3 separate regions of the Homo sapiens genome follow, and regions 1 and 2 are each linked to region 3. The links are contacts of gene promoters, found by promoter capture Hi-C in human tissues and cell types (Jung and others, 2019). All regions are on one chromosome and are shown on one strand. Each heading gives the region's core, a stretch centred on a gene start or on the middle of the fragment in contact. The rest is flanking DNA. Distances are from core to core; before and after follow the strand shown.

Region 1 (3,019 bases), core at 52-2,551, 80 kb after region 3:
AAATTAATTGTTAGCAAGATTAGCCCCCATTTTTTTTTTTTTTTAACAGATGGGAGTCTCATTATGTTGCCCAGGCTGGTCTCAAACTCTTGGGCTCAAGTGATTCCCCCACCTCAGCCTCTCAAGCATTGCTGGGACTACAGGCATGCACCACCGCTCCTGGCTAAAATCTTGTTTTAAGTTTCTTCCCTCCAACTTCCTCTTGCGTTCTTGGTGTTCTCTAACCATCTCTACAGGGGGGAGGTGGTGATACACAGCACATGCTTCCTCCTTATCTAATGTCACCTTCAGTTCAGAAACGATATGTTTTCTAATTAAAAGACAACTTTACAAGAGAAGCGTGCCTAACAAAATGTGTAGATGACTTTTTATTCATTGATTCAAAAGACATACATTCAGCCCCCGCTATTTACTGGATATTAAGCTCTGGGGCTACATGGAAGGACCACGCAGACACTCTTCATGCCTTCAACGGCTTACAGTTAAGTTTTTCAAACATTTGAAACATAACGAAGCTTTTGGTTACTTAAAAGAATTCTATGGTATTAGGGAGCAACACCTGTTTTGTAAACCTATATCTTCATACAGGGAATATGCTTAATCTTGCTACAGTATACATGAATGCGGGAATGTATCTTCCTCTGGGCTGCCTTTCGTTACCACTTGGCTGGGTGGAACACCTGTTCACTCCACTTTCCACTTGGGCTACAAACCTGAAACGAAATCTTTGCAACCAGTACAGCCTGCGCGGGGCGCGGCCCAGTCCATCCCCCTTCGGATGCGCAGAAGCAGAGGTCACCACGCCGGACCCCTCGATTCCCTCGCGGGCGATTCCTGGCTCCTTCACCACCCCAGCACTCCAAGACCCCCGCCCTTTGGCCTGAGGCTCCCACTGCCCTAGCCAGTTCCCGGGCTCACTTCCAGCTTTTCCAGAAAGCTTGGCCACGCCCCTCGGCCCAGACTCTCAGGCCACTCGGCCGCAATTAACCCGCGTCTCTGCGCCTTTTTAGGCCCCTCCCCCTCGGTCGTGCCCTTGTCATCTCTTAGGCCCCGTCTCACCCTTTCGGATGCCTCCCCTAGAACCCTACCACTTTCCACCCCTTTCCGTCTGTTATTTCTCCCAAACTTGCGCCCGCACAGGCCCCTCTGGAACACTCCTGCCCCGTAGTGCCCCTCGTCCCCGCTCCGTAGAGAAAGAGCGTGCGTGCCGCGCATTTCTGGCCTGGGGAGCGGGTGGAGTAAACCTGCGGGAACCATTTTACGACAACGTGCGGCTGTGCGGTGTGGCTGACGGCAACGCCGCTGCTCTTGGAGAGGTCACTCCGGAGACGGCGTTGGTTTTGGGGTGTGGGGGGTTGGTGGCACTATGTGGCGCGTCTGTGCGCGACGGGCTCAGAATGTAGCCCCATGGGCGGGACTCGAGGCTCGGTGGACGGCCTTGCAGGAGGTACCCGGAACTCCACGAGTGACCTCGCGATCTGGCCCGGCTCCCGCTCGTCGCAACAGCGTGACTACAGGGTATGGCGGGGTCCGGGCACTGTGCGGCTGGACCCCCAGTTCTGGGGCCACGCCGCGGAACCGCTTACTGCTGCAGCTTTTGGGGTCGCCCGGCCGCCGCTATTACAGTCTTCCCCCGCATCAGAAGGTGAGCCCTAGACCCCCCTTCTCGGGACCCCGTTGTCCTTCAGAGCTGACTGGATGCCTGCAAGATCCTCCTTGAGAGGCCTCACTGATCCTCCACCCATTCCCAGTATCTGCTTTGGCCCTTTGTCCAATAGTTGGCTTTGCTGTAGCTCCTTAGTGTCCCTCTCATGATCTATTTCATTGAAAGGAGAGCTTCAAGACTGGGGCTGTATGCAGAATATCTGCCGAGGTTCATGCTTTGTCAGACCCACAGGACTGTGGAGGAGAAAGCCTGTCACTGGAAATTACTAACTTCTCATGGACAGGAACTCCCTTGGCATCCCTAGTTCCCAATGTGCAATGGAACTGTATACACTTTGCATGAAATTGAATTGAATGAAATCTTAAGCCAGACTGAGAGTTAGGTAGTCCTTAAAAATTTTAATGTTTCTTCTTTTCCTTTTCCAGGTTCCATTGCCTTCTCTTTCCCCCACAATGCAGGCAGGCACCATAGCCCGTTGGGAAAAAAAAGAGGGGGACAAAATCAATGAAGGTGACCTAATTGCAGAGGTAAGTTTTTTTTTTTTTTTTTAATTAATTTATTTATTTTTTTTATTGATCATTCTTGGGTGTTTCTCGCAGAGGGGGATTTGGCAGGGTCATAGGACAATAGTGGAGGGAAGGTCAGCAGATAAACAAGTGAACAAAGGTCTCTGGTTTTCCTAGGCAGAGGATCCTGCGGCCTTCCGCAGTGTTTGTGTCCCTGGGTACTTGAGATTAGGGAGTGGTGATGACTCTTAAGGAGCATGCTGCCTTCAAGCATCTGTTTAACAAAGCACATCTTGCACTGCCCTTAATCCATTTAACCCTGAGTGGACACAGCACATGTTTCAGAGAGCACAGGGTTGGGGGTAAGGTCACAGATCAACAGGATAAGAATTTTTCTTAGTACCGAGCAAAATGAAAAGTCTCCCATGTCTACCTCTTTCTACACAGACACGGCAACCATCCGATTTCTCAATCTTTTCCCCACCTTTCCCCCCTTTCTATTCCACAAAACCGCCATTGTCATCATGGCCCGTTCTCAATGAGCTGTTGGGTACACCTCCCAGACAGGGTGGTGGCCGGGCAGAGGGGCTCCTCACTTCCCAGTAGGGGCGGCTGGGCAGAGGCGCCCCTCACCTCCCGGGCGGGGCAGCTGGCCAGGCGGGGGCTGACCCCCCCACTTCCCTCCCGGACGGGGCGGCTGGCTGGGCGGGGGGCTGGCCCCACCACCTCCCTCCCAGACGGGGCGGCTGGCCTGGCGGGGGCTGACCCCCACCTCCCTCCCGGACGGGGTGGCTGCCGGGCGGAGACGCTCCTCACTTCCCAGACGGGGTGGCTGCCGGGCGGAGGG
Region 2 (3,116 bases), core at 118-2,617, 74 kb before region 3:
ACTAAAGAAATCACCTACTGGCTCCCAGTAGTTGAATGTTTCATCACAGTCAGAGATGTTGCTCAGGAGAGCAGCACATAACCTTGCTGAAAGCAGACACTTGAAAGCAGTAGATCCTTCAGGTGCCCAGACTTGTCCTGCTTTGTTCCCAGATAACCTGTTCAAAAGCAAAAAAAAAAAAAAAAAAAAAAGCATGTCAGGAAGGACCTGCTAATCAGAAGACCTAAATCTAGATAGAAAGGACAAAAAGGGCAAGGGACATCAAAGCACTTAAGTTATTCACCTAAAAAGGTGAATAGCTAGTTGTTTTTTCTCAGTAAAATTAATAAAAATTCAGATTTTTAAGAAAAAATTTTTATGAGATAGGGTCTTGCTATGTTGCCCAGGCTGGACTTAAACTCCTAGGCTCAAGTAATCCTCCTGCCTCAGCCTTCTGAAGAATTGACTTTAATCACTCAATCACTCCTTCCACTTCCTGCTTTTAAGGCATAAATTAACTCATACACTTTAGCTCAATGCATTTATGTCACTCCATTTATCCCAAGCCAACTAATCACTCACTTGAAGGCCACAAAGCTGTCATTCTCCTTTTCTTTCTTTTCTTAACAAGGTCATTGCTTTTGATGGCTTTATTCATTCCCCCTTATGTTCAGATAGAAGCCTAGGTGCAAGGTACATAGCCTACTCCAATTCCATATGTTGACAGCTCCCTTAATGCAGTTCTAACCTGCAGCCTCCAGGGTTTGGGAAGAGGTGATGGCGGGTTGGATGGGCCCAGTAAAGGGTCGGGACTTGAGGGAGAATAAAAGGAGCTGTGAGGAACAGCCGTAAAAGGTATACTCTTTGATCCTGTCTACATCTCCCACAGAGGCTGTGCCCACTCTAGGCCTGGCCCAGGAGCATCACAGATCCGCACTCCAAGGCAGTTTTACAGCGCAGTGGAGGGATCTAAGGTGGGCGAAGACTGAATGCTGACCCGCCCAGGAAGACCAATAGGACCTAGCTGAAGAGGGAGCTCGGGCCTCCCGCGGTGAGGCCAGGCCGGACTGAGCCCCGCGCGCCACAGCTAAGACCCTCCCGGGGGCAGCCCCGAACCGCCCCGCCGGCCGGCCACGCCCCTGCCGCGCCGCACACGTACTCGGTCCGGTGCTCCGCGCCGCCCGCCTCTCGGCTGCCCAGCAGCTCCCGCAGCTTGTCCGCAGCCGGGGCCGTATCCCCACTGCTGGCCCCGCTGCCCTTCAGGCGCTGCCGAGCCCCTCGACTAGCCATGGCAAGCCTGGGGAAAAAAGAATTCGGCACCCTATGAAGTCGGTGAGCGCGCAGACATAGCTTTGGCTGGCAAACGGTGTCCGCCGAGGGACAAAAGACCTTGACATGCGCAGAAAATACTAAATTATAGCGTTACTGGGCCAATTGGGGCAGATCCCCGAGTAGCGAAGAAATAGAACCTGAGGAGTTTCTTCATCAGGGCTGTCCCATCCACCTGCTTCTAACTCTAGCCATTCCTACCTCCCTCCAACCCTCTTTTCCGTCACTTTTCAGCATTCTCCATTCTCAAAAAAAAAAAAAACCACCTCTCAGCTCCCCTATTTAAATGAAAAAACAAATAGAAAGTGATTAAAGAAATCTACATAGTGAGATGTGAAGTATTCAGTTAAATATCACAGCACAGCTATCTACTAAAAGGTCCTTAAAATGTCATTTTTAACACCTTGCCTTCTCTGTATTTTGGTAAGAGTGACAGAGGCAGCCTGTAGCTAAAAACTGCTTCAGAGAGACAAACCGGTAATGGCAGAGTGTAGACTGATGAAATTCTGTGCGGCAAATTGAACCAGATGTCCATCACTGTCATCGCTACTACGGCATTGTGGTAGGCATTTTACATATTTTATCCTTTTTAAACTTAATACAACAACCTTGTTTTATTTACCAGGAAACTAAATAAACTTGGAGCTAGTAAATGGTGGAGCTATGTTCCAGCCCAGGACTATCTTACCGGAAAGCCCATGCTCTCTCTTCCCACCAGATCTGGTGAAAGGTCTTCATTTCCTACAATCATTTTTATACTGGCACATTGATGATATCATACCTGTGACCCCCATATCTTGGGGGTCATTCATCTAATCCTGACACTCTATCCACTCCTCTAATCACAGAGCTATATCCTACCCTGTCGAGCTCCATGCCAGTAACTGGGACAAGTTTATAGAGGGAATGCTAATCTCTTGACAAGGTCTCAGAAGGTTGTGATTTCCTACTAAAAATTCCCAAGTATTGAAAATGGAGATTGATCATATTGCTCAATTCTCACATGCAGTCATTAGTTACCAAGTTCAAATATCCAGCTTAACTCTTTTTTTCTTTTCTTTTTCTTCTTTTTTTTTTTTTTTTTTTGAGACAAGAGTCTTCCTTGCTCACCCAGGCTAGAGTGCAGTGGCACAATCTCAGCTTACTGCAACCTCTGCCCCCTAGGTTCAAGAGATTGTCTTGCCTCAGCCTCCCTAGTAGCAGGGACTATTGCCACCACACTGGCTAATTTTTGTATTTTTAGTAGAGATTAGGTTTCGTCATGTTGGCCAGGCTGGTCTGGAACTCCTGGCCTCAAGTGATCCACTTACCTCAGCCTCCCAGAATGCTGGGATTATAGGCGTGAGCCACTACACCCAGCCTAACTGTATCTCATATACCCATCTCCTCCTTTTCATTTAAGTCTAATGCAGGTCCCTCCCTGTCTACGTAGGACTAACACAATAGCATCTCCACAGGGATCACTCATCTCAAATTCATCCTGTGCAACATTAACCAGTTAATTTTCCAAAGCACTACTCTGGGGCACTTCCTTAATAAAAAACCACCGGATGTTTTCCTATTGCCTACCAAATAAAGTACAAACTCCTTATTCTAGCATTTGGTATTCATGAACTCCAGCCCCAACTTACCGTTCCAATCTTATCTCCCACTACTTTCCTATGCACACTTTACATCCCAGCTAACTAGCCTAGAAAGTGCCCCCAAATGCTCCCTTATCTATATCTCTGTTTATGGATGTCCTCTGCCCAAAATGCACACCCTACTTGCCTAACAATTCTCCCTTCACATTCCTGCCCTTGTTTTAA
Region 3 (3,005 bases), core at 21-2,520:
GGGTCTCAGAGTTCTAAACAGGTATCTGGTTTCACTGTAAAACTAATTTCCTTCCTGAGCCATTCATGTCTCCTCCTGAACTGTCTCTCTAGCATACCACAAAAGCTCTCTGCTTTTCTTGTTTGCTTTTCTTGTTGCCAGCAGGAAAACATAGAGTCGCCTCCTTGGCTGTTTCTGCTCTAAGAACAGTAGATACCACATACTTCCCTGGTGAAGCCCCATTGGTGCTTTCGCAACTCTAGCAAATAAGTCCCCTGCAGGAATTCTGTGAGCTTGAGTCTTGGAGGAGATAGAGAACTGAGGCTCGGCTTACAAACCTGTTTGGAAGGAAGGGCAGGTCCCAAAGAAAAACAGGAAGAAGGTTACATTTGGTGGCAAGAAAGCTTTCAAGGTCAAGATTTCCTGCACAAATGAAGATTTTGGATGGAATTGTGTATACTAGAAGACTTTTACCTAAAATCATAGGGTTATTTGGAGTGTCTTGGAGGAAGCTGATGGAGATTATGGGATTGCTAAAGCCTCCTTCCACCGGCCACCTCGTGGTACTATCACTGCTCTCACAACTTTAGAGGGGTCCAGTCTCATCAAGCCAAAATCCTTCTCAGACAGTTTTAACTCTTGTTATGTCTACTGACTGACTTCTTCTGAGGCCTGACTCAGAGGGTGGTTACCATGAAAACCTTCAGTTGTTCTAGACATTTATTACACTGGCATCCTTTTAGCTTCCTTAGAACAAATTAGTCATGAAACTCCAGACTGAGATTAGTTCAACACTGTTACACACGTAGTATGTACCAACTGTCTTGGTCTTTTTTAAAAAATTAGTTCGGTTACAAGTGCCAAAAACCCAACTTGAACTAGCAGGGATAGGAAGTGGACGTTATTGACTCATGGAATCCAAGGAAAGGCAGAAAAACTAAACCATGGAAAGGGCAGGGATGCAGCAGAAACAATGAAATCAAGAACTCTGACACTGGCAGGATCTCTTCCTCTGTTCTCTGCCTCTTGTCTGCTTCTTTCTATGCTGGCTTTATTCCCATTTACTAGAGCTGGTTTTTCCTTCTCAGGTGGGCAGCATGGCCTATGGCAACGTCTAAGTTTTATATCTTACAACTTTGAGAGAGATGAGGGAGGAGGAGGAAGACTGATTCTATTCCTAAATGCCAGTTCAGAAAGTTCCAGGGATTGGCTGGCTTTCACCAATCAACTTTGGCAGACCAATCAAGTGTGACCAGTGGAGGGGGTGATACAATACCAACCTGGTCATAGGACCCACCACTGTGTGCACAGAGGAGGGTTCTTAAAGAAGAGGGAATCATTGTGGGCTGGGCAGCTACCCCAGGAGCTGTTAGCTACACTATCACTGTAAGCCTAGCTGGAATCTGATCATTCCTACTTTGCCTCTCTTGACCAAGATCCAGGGTCATAATCAAAATATAATTCTTTTTTTTTTTAATTGTTATGCGAAAGAGCTTCATTTATTTGTTTAGTTTTCTGACTTTGTGCTGGTGTGTTCAATACTTTTTCTTTTCCTGAATAAGGAAGGCACGCTTGGTTCTGTCACAGACACATTTAGTACACATAGAACAACCACAGGCCTTGCTGACATGGATTTTTTTTTGAGACAGAGTCTTGCTCTGTTGCCCAGGCTGGAGTGCAGTGGCACGATCTCAGCTCCCTGCAACCTCTGCATCCTGGGGTCAAAGGATTCTTGTGCCTCAGCCTCCCAAGTAGCTGGAATTACAGGCATACACCACCAGCCCGGTTAATTTTTTTTTTTTTTTTTTTTGAGATGGAGTCTCGTTCTGTCGCTCAGGCTGAAGTGCAGTGGCACGATCTTGGGTCACTGCAAACTCCGCCTCCTGGGTTCAAGTGATTCTCCTGCCTTAGCCTCCCAAGTAGCTGGGATTATAGGCGCCTGCCACCACGCCCGGCTAATTTTTGTATTTTTTTTTTTTTTTGAGATGGAGTCTTGCTCTTTCGCCTAGGCCGGACTGCAGTGGTGCGATCTCGGCTCACTGCAAGCTCCGCCTCCTGGGTTCCCGCCATTCTCCTGCCTCAGCCTCCCTAGTAGCTGGGACCACAGGCGCCTACCACTGTGCCCGGCTAATTTTTTGTATTTTTAGTAGAGACGGGGTTTCACCGTGTTAGCCAGGATGGTCTCGATCTCCTGACCTCATGATCCGCCCGCCTTGGCCTCCCAAAGTGCTGGGATTACAGGCTAATTTTTGTATTTTTATTAGAAATGGGGCTTTGCCATGTTGGCCAGGCTGGTCTCGAACTCCTGACCTCAAGCTATCTGCCCACCTTGGCCTCCCAAAGTGCTGGGATTACAGGTGTGAGCCACTGCACCTGGTCAGTTTTTTTGTATTTTTAGTAGAGACGGAGTTTTGCCATGCTGGCCAAGCTAGTCTGTAATTGCTGGCCTCAAGTGATCTGCCTACCTCAGCCTCCCAAAGTGCTAGAATTACAGGCATGAGCCACTGCACCCAGCCAACATGTTTTTTTTCCTTTGTTTATTTTGGAGAACCTCTTAAGAACTTTAGGTGTCACAGCAGGAACTCATTGAAGTCGGCCTGGGCACACGCCACATGCAGATTTTGGTGTTTTCCCAACCTTCTTGGTATGAAGGTAAACAGTTCTGTGAACAGGGATTTGGGACAGCCTAATTTTGTTAGAGGCTGTATTGCAGAAAAGCCTACAATGGTATGCCAAATGCTGGACCATTCTGAGTGCCTATGGACACTGTCCCCAGAATAAGCAAGATCTATTTCTCAATATTCCAGATATTTCCATTTTGCTGAGCCTGTTGTATCTTTTTGTCACTGAATAATAGACTTGTAAAATGATAGTGTTAGAAGGAAACAAAATGCAGTTTTTTTTTTCTTTTGGTGTTTATATTTGTTTTGGTTCTTGTTTTCAGCTGCTGTGTGAAGCCCTTAAATTACTTTAGATGGCTGGAGAGTAGGGGTGGGGGCTTGAGGGTGGAGAAACACAGGAAGAGT

The links. The method cuts DNA at HindIII sites, captures the fragments that hold promoters and counts their contacts. A contact is called where the count stands out against the background at its distance.
Region 1: a contact is called between the fragment with the promoter of DLAT here and a fragment that was not itself captured in region 3, in 3 of the 25 tissues and cell types used here (dorsolateral prefrontal cortex, hippocampus and spleen).
Region 2: the fragment with the promoter of ALG9 here is called in contact with a fragment that was not itself captured in region 3 in 2 of the 25 tissues and cell types used here (bladder and hippocampus).

Annotation. Positions count from the first base shown.
Region 1 is chr11:112,024,107-112,027,125 of GRCh38, forward strand. It overlaps DLAT (dihydrolipoamide S-acetyltransferase), which reads left to right and starts at 1,302. Exons shown (of 14, transcript NM_001931.5): 1 at 1,302-1,645; 2 at 2,092-2,193. The coding sequence starts at 1,367. RefSeq lists enhancers at 264-453, 1,104-1,303. The HindIII fragment of the contact is 3,303 bases long and covers 1-3,019 here.
Region 2 is chr11:111,870,214-111,873,329 of GRCh38, forward strand. It overlaps ALG9 (ALG9 alpha-1,2-mannosyltransferase), which reads right to left and starts at 1,368. Exons shown (of 15, transcript NM_024740.2): 1 at 1,139-1,368; 2 at 19-157. The coding sequence starts at 1,269. RefSeq lists a silencer at 1,004-1,313. The HindIII fragment of the contact is 8,331 bases long and covers 1-3,116 here.
Region 3 is chr11:111,944,166-111,947,170 of GRCh38, forward strand. All of the region lies in intron 1 of DIXDC1 (DIX domain containing 1), which reads left to right. Among named protein-coding and RNA genes, the nearest start is that of DIXDC1, 8.3 kb to the left of the region's middle. The HindIII fragment of the contact is 6,003 bases long and covers 1-3,005 here.